Linked DNA regions of Homo sapiens: all the other regions are linked to region 3. Evidence: promoter capture Hi-C in 16 types of primary human blood cells and fetal thymus (Javierre and others, 2016). All regions are on one chromosome and are shown on one strand. The core of a region is centred on a gene start or on the middle of the fragment in contact, and the rest is flanking DNA. Distances in the headings are between cores, read along the strand shown.

Region 1 (3,356 bases), core at 74-2,573, 1.2 Mb before region 3:
GTTTTTAATCCTAACGCAGTTCCTGTTTCTGTGTCCTTCCCCTATTGGCTGGGGTTGGACCGCACAATCTAAGCTGATCCCGATTGGCTAAGACTTAAACTTTGGCAAATAGGGTAAACCCTGGATTTGCGAAAAAAAGGAGTGTATGTGTGTGGTGGGGGGCGGGGGGCAGGCAGGATTGACGTACAACTTTTGCAACTTATGACAAGAAAGTTGAGTCTTTGAAGAGGGACTTAGTTGTCCCAACACTCTGAGTTGCCTGACCCGGTCCTGGGCTCAGTTCCTCCCAGATACCGGCGTTTATCATTGGTGTAGATAATGGTGACTTCCCTTGTCTTAGATGTGGGTGTCTTGGTCTTCCCGGGACGGAAGGAGTCAGAGACTCTTGAAAGGAGCCGTCCCGCTGGTCCTTTCATTTACGCCGATGCCAGCCCGGCACTCGAGCATCACCAAGGGCCCGGTGCCCGGCACTGCAGGGCCAAGTCTGATTTTATCGTTTGTGGAGCTGCAAGCTTAGGACGCACAGCTGTGAATTTCGGGTCCTGGTGACTGCGGAACCACCGCGAGGCCAGGAGGCGAGACAGTGCACTTTCCCAGGTTCCCAGGCCTAAGAGCCCACCTGGCTGGAATGGTCTCAAGGAGCAGAGAGGAATCCGCACCCTCCGAGTCCTCCGAACCCTCCGATCCTGCGAACCTGCGGCGGCTCTGCGGTTGGTTCCGTGAGGAACTGGCCGCGATCGCAAGCTTGGAGCTGCTTTTTGGTTTGTTCTGAGTCCTTCACCTGGTGAGGGGAAGGAAGCCCTGCTTGGGGTCGTTGAATCTGAGTTTTCTCCAGTCAGAATCAGTGGTTTGAGATTGTTTTCCCTGAAACAGCATGGTTTTCCTGTGCCTACAGTGAGGAATTCTCCTTTTCTTAAAAAAAAATATATTTTATTAATAAAAGGGAAAGTAACGCTTCTATTACAAAAAAAAAAAAATTCAGCGGGCATGGATCAGGTATGATTTAAATAAACATAAGAAAAGACCCTCCCACCAAGGAGGCCGGTTAGCTCAGTTGGTTAGAGCGTGGTGCTAATAACGCCAAGGTCGCGGGTTCGATCCCCGTACGGGCCACTTCCGTGGGTTTGTTTTTTTTTTTTTTCTTCTTTTTCGTTTTTATTTTACACCGACCACACCTCGCTTGTAAACTTCGGTTTTACATCGAACTCCGTAGCCTCGCCTATCCATTTATAAATGTAGTTGCACTAGCTAGACAGGAATTTTTTTCTTTTTTCTTTTTTTTTTTTCTTAAATCGACCACACCTGGATTGTATACTACCGTCTTACATCCAACTCCGGAGCGCTGCCTATCCATTTGTAAATGTGGTCGCAATAGCTAGACAAGCATTAGATTTGCACGTTTTTTATTCTTTTGAAGAAATAATATACGAGTTAGGATGAAAAGGTTTTTCTTATTTGTTTGTTTTGTTTGTTTTTGAGACAGAGTCTTGCTCTGACGCCCAGGCTGGAGTGCAGCGGCGCGATCTTGGCTCGCTGCAACCTCCGCCTCCCAGGTTTAAGCAATTCTTCTGCCTCAGCCTCCCAAGTAGCTGGGATTACAGGCGTGTGCCACGATGCCTGGGTAATTTTTGTATTTTCAGTAGAGACGGAGTTTCACCATGTTGGCCAGGCTAGTCTTGAACTCCTGACCTCAGGTGATCCGCCTGCCTTGGCCTCCCAAAGTGCTGAGATTACAGGCATGAGCCATCGCGCCCGGCCAGGATGAAGATTTTTTAAAGGAAATTCAATGAGGTGGGTGGGTGATTTTAGAAAAGGGTTAAATAAGAATTCGATAATGTCTTGTATTATTTTGGGAAAAAAAAACTTTCTGAGATAATACTATTTTGACATATTTTAAGCTTTTGAAAGAGATCATATTGATTCTTCTCCTAGTTGATCACTCAGTTGGTTAAATTGTTGTGTTTGTAGCTTTGAGGGCGAGGGTTCAGTCTACGTGGGAAAAAGCCAGACTTGTGACGTTGCTTTCTGCCAAGCTCCAGACACTCAGCCACAACTGCTCAGTGTTAAAATAGATCCGTGGTTAGCCTTAGGCTTATATTTGACAGCTGTTCTCGATGTGGCCCATACCAAGCCATTTACGATGCGGCCCTTACCAAGCCATTTACAGTTCATTAAACAATTTTTGAACATATATCGTAAAAGCGATAGGTTTGAAATGTGACAAAAATGGAGTGCGTGGTGGGAGACAGGAGGGCCAGAGCCTCTGGGTCCACTCTAAGTCTTAGCACCTCGCTCTTTCTGTCCTGCGCTTTCTTTTTTTTTTTCTTTTTTTCTTTTTCTTTTTTTTTTTTTTTTTTGAGACGGAGTCTCGCTCTGTCGCCCAGGCTGGAGTGCAGTGGCGCAATCTCGGCTCACTGCAAGCTCCGCCTCCCGGGTTCACGCCATTCTCCTGCCTCAGCCTCCCAAGTAGCTGGGACTACAGGCGCCCGCCACTACGCCCGGCTAATTTTTTGTATTTTTAGTAGAGACGGGGTTTCACCGTTTTAGCCGGGATGGTCTCGATCTCCTGACCTCGTGATCCGCCCGCCTCGGCCTCCCAAAGTGCTGGGATTACAGGCGTGAGCCACCGCGCCCAGCCCTGTCCTGCGCTTTCTTGGAGTCTGGTCACTGGGTCCCCGTGTGCCTGGCACGTGTCTCATTTACATTTCTTCCTTCACTCTTCATCCTCCCAACATATTTTTACCCTTCTCTTATTTTAAAACATGGGTTGCTATGAAAATGACATTAACAATATTGATAAATAATGAGGTAAATAATGGCTCAAAAACAGCGCCAAGGACATAGTGGGCGAATCACAAAGGGAAGGGGCTCCCTCTGTTTTGCTCAGTGCTGTGATTTTTCACGTCAAAAACAGTAAGTAGCTCAAAGTCAGCGACTGAAAAAGATTTCTTTAGAATAAATTAATGAAGAGTACCTACTACTTAGTCCATTGTATATTAGATGATATATACAGATTTAAGTATAAGAAGGATTCCACAGGTAGTTGCTGACTTTGAAAACGAAGGGAGCCACCAGCCAGAGAACTCAGGCATCTGCTAGAAACTGTGAACAACCTGTAAACCGTTATCTCAGTCCTACAGCTGCAGGGAACTGAATGCTACTGACAACCTGAGTGAGTTTGAAAACGAATTCTCCCCTAGAGCCTCCATGAGGAACATGGCCGGGCCTGCTGACGTTTTGGTATTAGTTTGATGACACCCTGCCAGACTTATAACGCACAGAACTGTGTGATAATGAATGGATGTTGTTTTAAGCTATTAAATTTGTGGTAGTTTGTTAAGGAAGTAATAGAAAAA
Region 2 (3,431 bases), core at 802-3,301, 1.1 Mb before region 3:
ATATTTCATAATCTCTTTTAAATTGTTAAAAAGTTGAATGTGCTAAATTGTCTCCTGTCTCATAAATTTTTTTTTTTTTTTTTTTTTTTAAAGAGTAGTTCAGTGCTTTGCAATAATTGCTGTGTGATTCTGGACCACAGCAATTCAATCTAGCAATTGTTACAGCCTGCTGAAGAACGCTTGCACAGAATAATTGCCTGCTTCAGATTCTCCCATCCTTTGGGAAACTGAGAGTAGCTCTGGGATTGAAAAGTGGAGGTTTATTTAACTGTGGTTAGGGACTTGGCAATCATATGTTTGGTCTCTGCTGTTATCTAGTATCTTTAAGTCTAGAAGTTGGAAGTAAAGAGGTCAGTGGACCTAAGAAAATGGCATGGCTTTCTACCCTAGATGAGCTGGAAAAACTTAGTAATTCTTCAAGTGCTTAATACAAAGGAGCAAATCTCACAACTCAATGCCTATGAATTGTAATATATCATGTCACTACTTTCTTGATATTACCTGAGGTATAAGTACAGTTGGGAGAAGACCTTATCTCTATCTTCAGGAATATAAGTGAAGGAAAGGAAATTTTTTTCTTTTTTTTGAGACAGTCTTACTCTGTCGCCAAGGCTGGAGTGCAGTGGCACTGTGTCAGCTCACTGCAACCTCTGTCTCCTTTGTTCAAGCAATTATCCTGCCTCAGCCTCCTGAGTAGCTGGGATTACAGGTGCCCACCACCATGCCTGGCTAGTTTTTATATTTTTAGTAGAGATGGGATTTCACCATGTTGGCCAGGCTGGTCCTGAACTCCTGACTTAAGGTGATCCACCTGCCTTGGCCTCCCAAAGTGCTGGCGTGAACCGGGCCAGTGAGCCACCGCACTGGGCCTGGGAAATTTGTTCATTTGCTTTATCCTACTTTCTCATTCTTTATTGAACTAGGATTTTTTTGTCTTTATTGTATGTGTCTGAAAGCCAGTTTGTTACTCTTAAGACACTACTCAAATAGAAATATAATGTGGCCACGTGCGATGGCTCATGCCTGTAATCCCAGCACTTTGGGAGGCCGAGGTGGGTGGATCACAAGATCAGGAGTTTGAGACCTGCCTGGCCAGTATGGTGAAACCCCGTCTCTGCTAAAAATACAAAAATTAGTTGGGCATGGTTTCACATGAGTGTAGTCCCAGCTGCTTGGGAGGCTGAGGCAGGAGAATGGCTTGAACCCGGGAGGCTGAGGTTGCAGTGAGCCAAAATTGTGCCACTGCACTCGAACCTGGGCGACAGAGCGAGACTGTCTCAAAAAAAAAAAAAAAAAAAAGGAGGGGGGGAATGTAATACGTCATACATGTACTTATCTTTCCAGTAACCATTTTTAAAAGTTAAAAAAAATTGTCTGGGCACAGTGGCTCAAGCCTGTAATCCCGGCACTTTGGGAGGCCGAGGCAGGCGGATGACCTGAGGTCAGGAGTTCAAGACCAGCCTGGCCAACATGTCTCTACTTAAAATACAAAAAAATTAGCCTGGCGTGGTAGTACGCACCTGTAATCCCAGCTACTTGGGAGGCGGAGGCAGGAGAATTGCTTGAACCCGGGAGGCGGAGGTTGCAGTGAGCCGAGATCACACCATTGTACTCCAGCCTGGGGGACGAAAGCGAGAGTTCGTCTCCAAAAAAAAAGTTAAAAAAGTTAATTTTAATAGTGTATCCTATTTGACAGAATATATCAAAAATATAGTTTCAGCATATAGTCAATACAGAATGTATTAAATATCTTGTATTCTTTTTTCATTTCAAATCTTCAAAATCTGGTGTGTATTTTACACTTTTATGGTATATCAAAATAAATTTTCGTGGGGAATTCTTGATCTGTAATTAGAATAAGATGATTCTGATTCATGTCCCTAAGGTGTTCCAAGTATACTTGAATGCTATCTAATTGAATCCAGCACCAGTTTTTAAAAGTAAACTAATTAAGATATAATTAAACACTTACTCCCTCAGTCACATGCCACATTGTAAGTGCTCAAACTCCATGCATGGCTAGTGCTATACCATAAGACACTCAATGAGCAGAACTTGACCTAAAACCCACTAGGGCACTATGCAAAGGATTACAATTCCTTCTGGCATCACCACCTACTACGGTTTTTCCTAAGGGAGTGTTTAATCCATTGGGCTTGGAACATGAAAAATGACAGGGAAGGACGTGTTACATTGCTGCAGATTTAACAATAACATAACTATATAGACACAAAATAAAAACGACTTTCTCAGGCCCACAAACTGACACATGAAAATAATTCATTCCAATTGGGATTAAGTGACAAGCAGGTTTTGCATCTGTCCTGACACATTTCCCCAAATTCTTCATTATAGGACTAGCACCACTACTACTCTCTGTGATGGCTTATCTATCTACTAAGAGAGTGTGATTAAGAATATTACAGGTTTGAGTGAGTGTATGTTCGGGGCAATTTGAATCTATGCTCCTGGAATAATAAAAATTAAAGAAAGACAAGTTTGGGTCATAAAATCTAACATTTGTGAATTGGTTATTTGATTTGGCCTCTTTTGCCATTTTAAAATAAGAGTAATAAAATCTATCTCACAAGAATATGAGATACGAGATAATCCATGTAAAGCACTTAACAATTTTCAACAAACTTTCAGTGTATCTTAGGCATTACTTTCCTCTTTCACCCTTTCTTTTGTCCCTTTTGTAATACTTTGAAAATTTTAGGTATTGTTAATCATTGCTTATTTAGAAAGTAAGATCAATCTTTTATCAGGTCTTCCCTTAGCTCGCTCTTGATGCTACTCTTACAGCGATTTCAGAAAAGCCTTACTATCCAATTCAAGCCAAATCAGGACATAAGCCGCCTAAATGTTTTTTGTTTTTTTTTTTTCCCCCAGATTGATGCCTGTAGCTCCTGGGGAAAGTGGAAGTCAGATAACTCCTTTATGAAAAGGCAGCATTCAAAAACTATAAAAAATATAAATCCAACATTATTAAAATTTTGCACATCCAAAGATATCACGAACAGTTAAAAACAAACCCACAAGGTGACAGAATATATTTGTCACATACTGACAAAAAGTTAAAACTCAAATATATAAAGAATATTTACAAATCAAATCTCATAAAATAAAAACTGTAGAGAATCTGAATAGACCATTCCGAGGAAAGCGGGAAAATCTCCAAATAGCCAAAAATCTCATTTAGAAAAACTCCGATTTCACATTAGGAAATGCTGATAAACAATAACTCTCAAGCACTGCTGGTGGAATATGGGAGTATAAATTTAAAATACTACCCTGGAAAGCAAATTGTTCATTTTTATTCATGTTGAATATGCACATTTACCAAATAATTCCACTTCCATGTAACCAGAAAATGCACAGCTGTATACAGTGCTGTTTTGTAATGAGGAAAAAAAATCAACAGAGAAATG
Region 3 (3,110 bases), core at 157-2,656:
ACTAGCCGTCAAACCAAGATGTAGAGTTTCCAACCGTTATTTTCCAAATTTTTAGAAATTACGTGAAATATTTGAATGCATGCCTTCTCAATAAAATGGGACGTAGGAAGCACTGGTGCAGAAGATGGGTACAATACTTATCTGGGACCACTCCATTATTTGGTTGGCACGTTGTTTGAACAAAAAGGGGAAAAGCTCAGGTTACTTAGCATGGTTCGGACTTATTTGAAAACTACCACAGCAGGAGCGGAAATAAGACCGCATTACCTCACTCTCTGCTGTGCTGTGCTAGGGGGTTATCCAGAATAGGATTGTAGAAGTGGATGTCGATTTAATAGTTTTTTATTCTCCCATTAGCTGAGTCTCTGATTGGCAATGTGAGATCGTTTTAGCTTATTGATACTTTGAAATGCACTTAACAGCCACAAACAAGTTAAAGGGTTGTTACCATAAAATCTTATCCCCAGGGTGTGCTTGCATTTATCACCCGTGTTTGCTTTCACACTAAGTGGACTTAACTCCCCAGCAGAATGCCTGTCAGGGAACCGGTTTCGTGGACCCAGCATTTAACGCCTTTCGCAGGCTTGTGAGGCCCATAAATATTTGTTGAATAAAAGAATGAGTTGACCATGTCATGGTGCGCTGATTGCGTGTGCTGACATGGAACACAGGTTGTAAACCTTAATACCAATTTGGGGCATGTTGTATGGATGAAAAGGGCATTGGAAATTCCTGAAGTGCATCCCACATTGGACTGTGGAAATAAGTTGCAAGTGCAGAAACGTTTCCACACTTGCAGTTTGAGTATTAATTGCAGCGTTTGTGAATTCTGGTGTTGTCTACGATTCATTCTTGTTTGACGTGAAAGGTATTCGCGAGACACATCGCTCTAAAACATTGCCAGAAAATGTAATAGAGTTGATGACAACTGGCCCTAACACGGCCTAAAACTCGCACTTTTCTCTCCCTCCGCAACTATTCAAAACACTGTATTTTACATTTCTTGCAAATTAAAAACTAACATCTCTGGCAACGGACCTCTAAAAATTTCTAATAAAACTCCTCGGATGCTTGTGGCACTGCATTTGTAAACCGCCCCCTCTCAACCTACTCCCTAAAAAAGAGCTGCTTTTTGAGAGAGAAGCGGTACCCTCTGATGTTACTGGGCGGCAGTCTGCCTACAATTTCCTTCACAATGAGGCAACCAGAGCGGCTTTTTCTGTGTGTTTGCTTGCGTTGAGGGGAGCAGGACCATAGGCCCTAGAGGCCCCCAGCTGCCTTCTGAGACTGGGCGAAACCCTCGGCAGCGCGCAGGGGGCGCTAGGGCGCGAGGGGCGGGCACTGACGGGCACCAATCACGGCGCAGTCCCACCCTATAAATAGGCTGCGTTGGGGCCTTTTTTTCGCATCCTGCTTCGTCAGGTTTATACCACTTTATTTGGTGTGCTGTGTTAGTCACCATGTCTGAAACAGTGCCTCCCGCCCCCGCCGCTTCTGCTGCTCCTGAGAAACCTTTAGCTGGCAAGAAGGCAAAGAAACCTGCTAAGGCTGCAGCAGCCTCCAAGAAAAAACCCGCTGGCCCTTCCGTGTCAGAGCTGATCGTGCAGGCTGCTTCCTCCTCTAAGGAGCGTGGTGGTGTGTCGTTGGCAGCTCTTAAAAAGGCGCTGGCGGCCGCAGGCTACGACGTGGAGAAGAACAACAGCCGCATTAAGCTGGGCATTAAGAGCCTGGTAAGCAAGGGAACGTTGGTGCAGACAAAGGGTACCGGAGCCTCGGGTTCCTTCAAGCTCAACAAGAAGGCGTCCTCCGTGGAAACCAAGCCCGGCGCCTCAAAGGTGGCTACAAAAACTAAGGCAACGGGTGCATCTAAAAAGCTCAAAAAGGCCACGGGGGCTAGCAAAAAGAGCGTCAAGACTCCGAAAAAGGCTAAAAAGCCTGCGGCAACAAGGAAATCCTCCAAGAATCCAAAAAAACCCAAAACTGTAAAGCCCAAGAAAGTAGCTAAAAGCCCTGCTAAAGCTAAGGCTGTAAAACCCAAGGCGGCCAAGGCTAGGGTGACGAAGCCAAAGACTGCCAAACCCAAGAAAGCGGCACCCAAGAAAAAGTAAATTCAGTTAGAAGTTTCTTCTAGTAACCCAACGGCTCTTTTAAGAGCCACCTACGCATTTCAGGAAAAGAGCTGTAGTACACAGATGAAATCCCCCAAGCAAATGCAACACGCCCTCAATTATATTAGAATCACTTGGAGAGTCGATAGAACTTTAACATAGCCTCATCTAGTAAGAATTTACTACTCAATCTATCAAAGATAGCAAGGTGAATTCAAATGCACCGAGTTAAAATCGAGTTTTAAAGTCACCTGGGTTTCGGTAGCCGGAAGTCCCGCGTCTCACGACTCCAAGCTAATTAGTCATAACCGTATTGAACCAAGGTTGAAGCCCAGTCCCAGGCTTGAGGCTTTTTATTATACAAGGTTAAAGTGGGGATATTGCGTTTTGGGGTCAATATTGCTAAAGTAGCATTTTCCGAAATTGGGTGGTCCTAAGAAATGCTTCTGGGATAGTTGGCAAAATATATGGCTTAACCACGCCCTCTCCACAGGAGTGGCTAGCGAGCTGTCTGTCCTTGGGAAGGACGGTGACCCTGCTGGCGTGGCTGGCGCCCACGTTGGCGTCCTCTGAAAGCCCCGCCAGGTAGGCCTAGCTCGCTTGCTTTCTGCAGCGCCATCATGACAAAGCTTTGAAACGCAAAATGCTTTCTTTGTGCAGCGCCTTACCATGGGTGCACTTACGGGCTGTCGACTTGGTTTAGGCCCTTGTCAGGACAAAGGAGCTTAGTTTGTTGGAGTTTTAGAGCTGCAACCCAAAATCCCTTGCTCGGTTTCTCTGTTTTTAGAAACGGAAGCGCCCTGATTGGATATTTGAAAATTACTGTGCTTAACTGGATCGTGTTTCATCAGTCGTGCAGGATTTTCAACCCTGGTGGAGCCCACACATTCAAAACTGAAGATCCTTTTCTCAGAACTGCCCCTTTAAGCTTTTGCAATTTTAATTCTGGGGGTCAGATTTTAATAATTGGACTTTTTTGTTTACATCTGACAAGAGTATATG
Region 4 (3,376 bases), core at 844-3,343, 1.1 Mb before region 3:
TAAAGTGTTTCATCCGGATTTCTGCTGACATTAGAAGGAAAGTTCTTTTCCTGATTCCCTGACTTTTGGGGCTATTCTTTCTAGAACCTACCTTTTCCCACAACATCTGTGTCTTCCCTAAACTTATGGCCTATCATAGCAAACATTTTGGCCAACATCCGCCTTATAAAAAGCCTTGCTCAGATCTTCAAATAAGCCTCAATACTGAGGACAGACAAAACCCTTCTTATTATTGTTAGAACTACCTTATCAGCATCAAAGAAGCACAGGATTGTAGTCAAGTTAAATAGATGCTGAGTCTGGTACCAGTCTTTGCAATATTACTACTGCATGAAGGCCTTCCACCACTTAAGTAGCAATGATATTTATTTATTTAGCTCCAAAAATGGCTTATTTTATTATTTTGTTTGTTTGTTTGTACCTTACTGAGCTAGTGCCATCATGCATTTACCACCCTTAAATCTTTAGAACAATCTTAGAAGGTGGTAACTTTCATTAATTTCCATGGAGAGATGAGAATGATAAAACATAGAAATATTAAAAAGTCATTTCAAGACCATGAATGCCATAGGTAGAGTAAAACAGTTTTCTTTCTGAAAATGTGGTTGGCAGACTGTGTAAGATACTTCCATACCAATATTAGTGCATTCATAAAATGCAAGCTTTTAATCTCACAATTCCCCTGTTTATACCAGATTTCTAGCAATGCTCACTCAAAGCTGCAAAACATTATTGTGAACCAGAGAACTTCACACCTCTAAGATAAACATGTGCTTTGCACTGAGTATCATATGGTACACGCCAAGCAAGCTCTCTACTTTTCGAGCAAATCATACAGCATGGGTTTTATTGAGCCCTATTACTCACTTGTCACTACAATTTTATTCTGTAATAGATCTAGGACCCTAGCTCTCTCACTAAGAGATAGCCTCTGAGTCAGAGTCCATAGATTTCTGCTACTCAGGCCAGTAAGATCTGAGAAAATGTGTTCTGGAGAATTGCAAGATCAAAATGTTTATTGCTTTAGCAGTTTTATCATTCACTTGTGGCAAAATAATTGACAAGAACTGATCCTTTAGGGTCAATACATACTTGATCCCTGTCTTCACTCTTGTAAGACTGAGTCAAGATAAAATAGACTAAAAAGAAAATTGAAGTAGAATGTGATACAAGTGAACATGAATAACCACTACAAATGCTATTAAATTACTGAGAAGAGGCCTAGAACCTGACCTGTTGGAGAGATGATATCCTACAGTATAAGGCAGCTCAGCTCAATTACAATATCTCTGAGTTTCAGAATCCATGTCAGCTGGATGGACAGTTGGAGAAGAAATGGGGGCTATTTTAGCCCCAAGAAGGAAAGAACAAATCTCTTTTGCTGAAATTTTTGATAAGTTGCTAAAAGTATGAGTATTCTTTTTTTTTGAGACCGAGTCTTACTCTGTCACTCAGGCTGGAGTGCAGTGGTGTGATCTTGGCTTACTGCAACTTCCACTGCCTGGGTTCAGGCAATTCTCGTGCCTTAGCCTTCCGAATAGCTGGGACTACAGGCCTATGCCACTATGCCAAGCTAATTTTTGTATTTTTAGTAGAGACGGGGTTTCACCATGTTGGCCATGCTGGTCTCGAACTCCCGACCTCAGGTGATCTGCCCGCCTCGGCCTCCCAAAGTGCTGGGATTATAGGCATGAGCCACCACACCTGTTTGAATACTAACCTTCCACCAGGGCCAGGAGGGACGAAGTGCCATTAATGTGTTCTCAGAGTGCTGTGCTACTAACTAGAACTGGGCTCATGGAAGCGCCTCTGGGGATCTGCCTGTCTCCAGCCACCTCCTACTGGTCCTAGGTAGCACCAACTACTTCTTTCCAGCCACCTCCGTATCTCAGATCAGCTCTCCTCCACTCCCGCCTCACCCAGTCTACTTGGCTCTTTAGAACTCATTCTAGAAACTGAACGGGCTAGAAATGGGGGCTGTTCTTCTGGGCCATTATTCCCCCCCACCCAAATTCCTTCAATTACTCAAATTTCTTTAATTTTCTCCAGATGATCAAAGGTTACAGTTTTTCAGCATTGGTCCAGCTAGGATACTTAGAAACGCGTGATTAATAATTTGTCTTTTGTGTTTTAAGAAAGATCTCCACAACAAACCTGGATCCCCTTTTGAACAGTCCTTTCCTCATGCCTACCAGTGTTTGAAAGTAAAAGTTTTCCATTAAAAAAAAATTACCTCAGTTTCTTCACATACAGCCAATGCCAACAAGACTGTAGGGCTTGGGTAGGGTTGGGAAGAGAATCTTTGGAGAGGGGAAAAAAAAGACAAGGCAACAAGCGTAGACACTCTCTGCTTGGCTGACTGGTTGGGGCACCATGATGAATACTAGTGTTTTTTGTGTACAGATTAGATCGTAAGTCAATTCAATTTTGCAAGGGTTTTTCCGAGACTGTCTCCACTCCAGTATGTTGAAAAATTGAGGCGACGTCAAGGTACTGCTCAGTACGTTGAGAAATTGAGGCGACATCAAGGTACTGCCGTGACTCGGATTCGAACCGAGGTTGCTGCGGCCACAACGCAGAGTACTAACCACTATACGATCACGGCACGCCACCAGAGGCCGCTGCTTGTGGGGCTCTTCCTTTGCTTATTTCCCAGAAACGTCTGTTTTTGTCATCTAAAGAATGGTGCAGTCTTTCGTCCTTATTTACACACCTACCCAGTTTACTTCCTTATCCACTCCCCGTCCCCAATATTTTGCTTATGGCAAAGAAGCCAAAGGTAACACATTAAGTTTCATTATATGGAATTTTCCCAGCGTGGTGGTTGTTTTTGGGGGTTGGTAATACTGTGCTTGTAAACTCATTATTCTCACTTCTATCTCCAACCCACGCATGTTTCTTGCTCAGTTTAGCAGTGTGGTCCTCAGATCTTTGGCAACAAAAGGAAGAGGGCGCTGCTTTGAAGTGGACCTGCCAGATCCCATTTTTTGCCAAACTAGTCAGAATCTTCGGGGGCTTGGCATGGAATCTGGCATCTCGACAGGTGCCAGAAGTGAGTTTCTCATCACGAGGAACTATGTGGCTTCGTCCTGACCCAGGTACCTATGAGAAGCCAGTGAGGCGCTCGCGCACTCAGCCTGCCCACCTGAGCCGTCAGGAAATGTCCGGCGGCGCTCGCACCTCAGAGTGAAATTTCTTTCTCCCTTTCATACCTAGTTTGCCAGAAGAGGGAGATAAAAGTGCCTCTCCTGTGGCTCCAAAGCTCCGTGGGACTTCCCTCCTGCCCCGCTTGCTGTTTTAGGAACGTAGCCTCTAGAGTCAAGGTCCTGGTCGTGTTTTCCCCTTGATACCAAATGATTTTCTTTCTGTAAAATCA

Evidence for each region. The method cuts DNA at HindIII sites, captures the fragments that hold promoters and counts their contacts. A CHiCAGO score of 5 or more calls a contact.
Region 1: a fragment that was not itself captured here is called in contact with the fragment with the promoter of H1-1 in region 3 in 1 of 17 cell types (naive CD8 T cells); the score reaches 5.1 in naive CD8 T cells.
Region 2: a contact is called between a fragment that was not itself captured here and the fragment with the promoter of H1-1 in region 3, in 13 of 17 cell types (naive CD8 T cells, fetal thymus, activated CD4 T cells and 10 more). The highest score is 21.6, in naive CD8 T cells.
Region 4: a fragment that was not itself captured here is called in contact with the fragment with the promoter of H1-1 in region 3 in 5 of 17 cell types (activated CD4 T cells, naive CD4 T cells, fetal thymus and 2 more); the score reaches 13.5 in activated CD4 T cells.

Annotation. Positions count from the first base shown.
Region 1 is chr6:27,174,972-27,178,327 of GRCh38, reverse strand. TRI-AAT5-2 (tRNA-Ile (anticodon AAT) 5-2) reads left to right here and starts at 1,040; the gene lies at 1,040-1,113. RefSeq lists enhancers at 293-392, 583-782, a silencer at 985-1,134 and a cis regulatory region at 124-1,201. The HindIII fragment of the contact is 1,154 bases long and covers 747-1,900 here.
Region 2 is chr6:27,140,505-27,143,935 of GRCh38, reverse strand. It overlaps a transcript of H2BC12 not described here. Among named protein-coding and RNA genes, the nearest start is that of H4C9, 2.9 kb to the right of the region's middle. The HindIII fragment of the contact is 4,423 bases long and covers 1-3,431 here.
Region 3 is chr6:26,016,083-26,019,192 of GRCh38, reverse strand. H1-1 (H1.1 linker histone, cluster member) reads left to right here and starts at 1,406. Exons shown (of 1, transcript NM_005325.4): 1 at 1,406-2,161. The coding sequence starts at 1,461. The coding sequence ends at 2,108. It also overlaps the pseudogene H3P26. RefSeq lists an enhancer at 2,214-3,110. The HindIII fragment of the contact is 5,921 bases long and covers 1-2,739 here.
Region 4 is chr6:27,157,356-27,160,731 of GRCh38, reverse strand. TRH-GTG1-5 (tRNA-His (anticodon GTG) 1-5) reads right to left here and starts at 2,605; the gene lies at 2,534-2,605. RefSeq lists a silencer at 2,445-2,494. The HindIII fragment of the contact is 2,858 bases long and covers 665-3,376 here.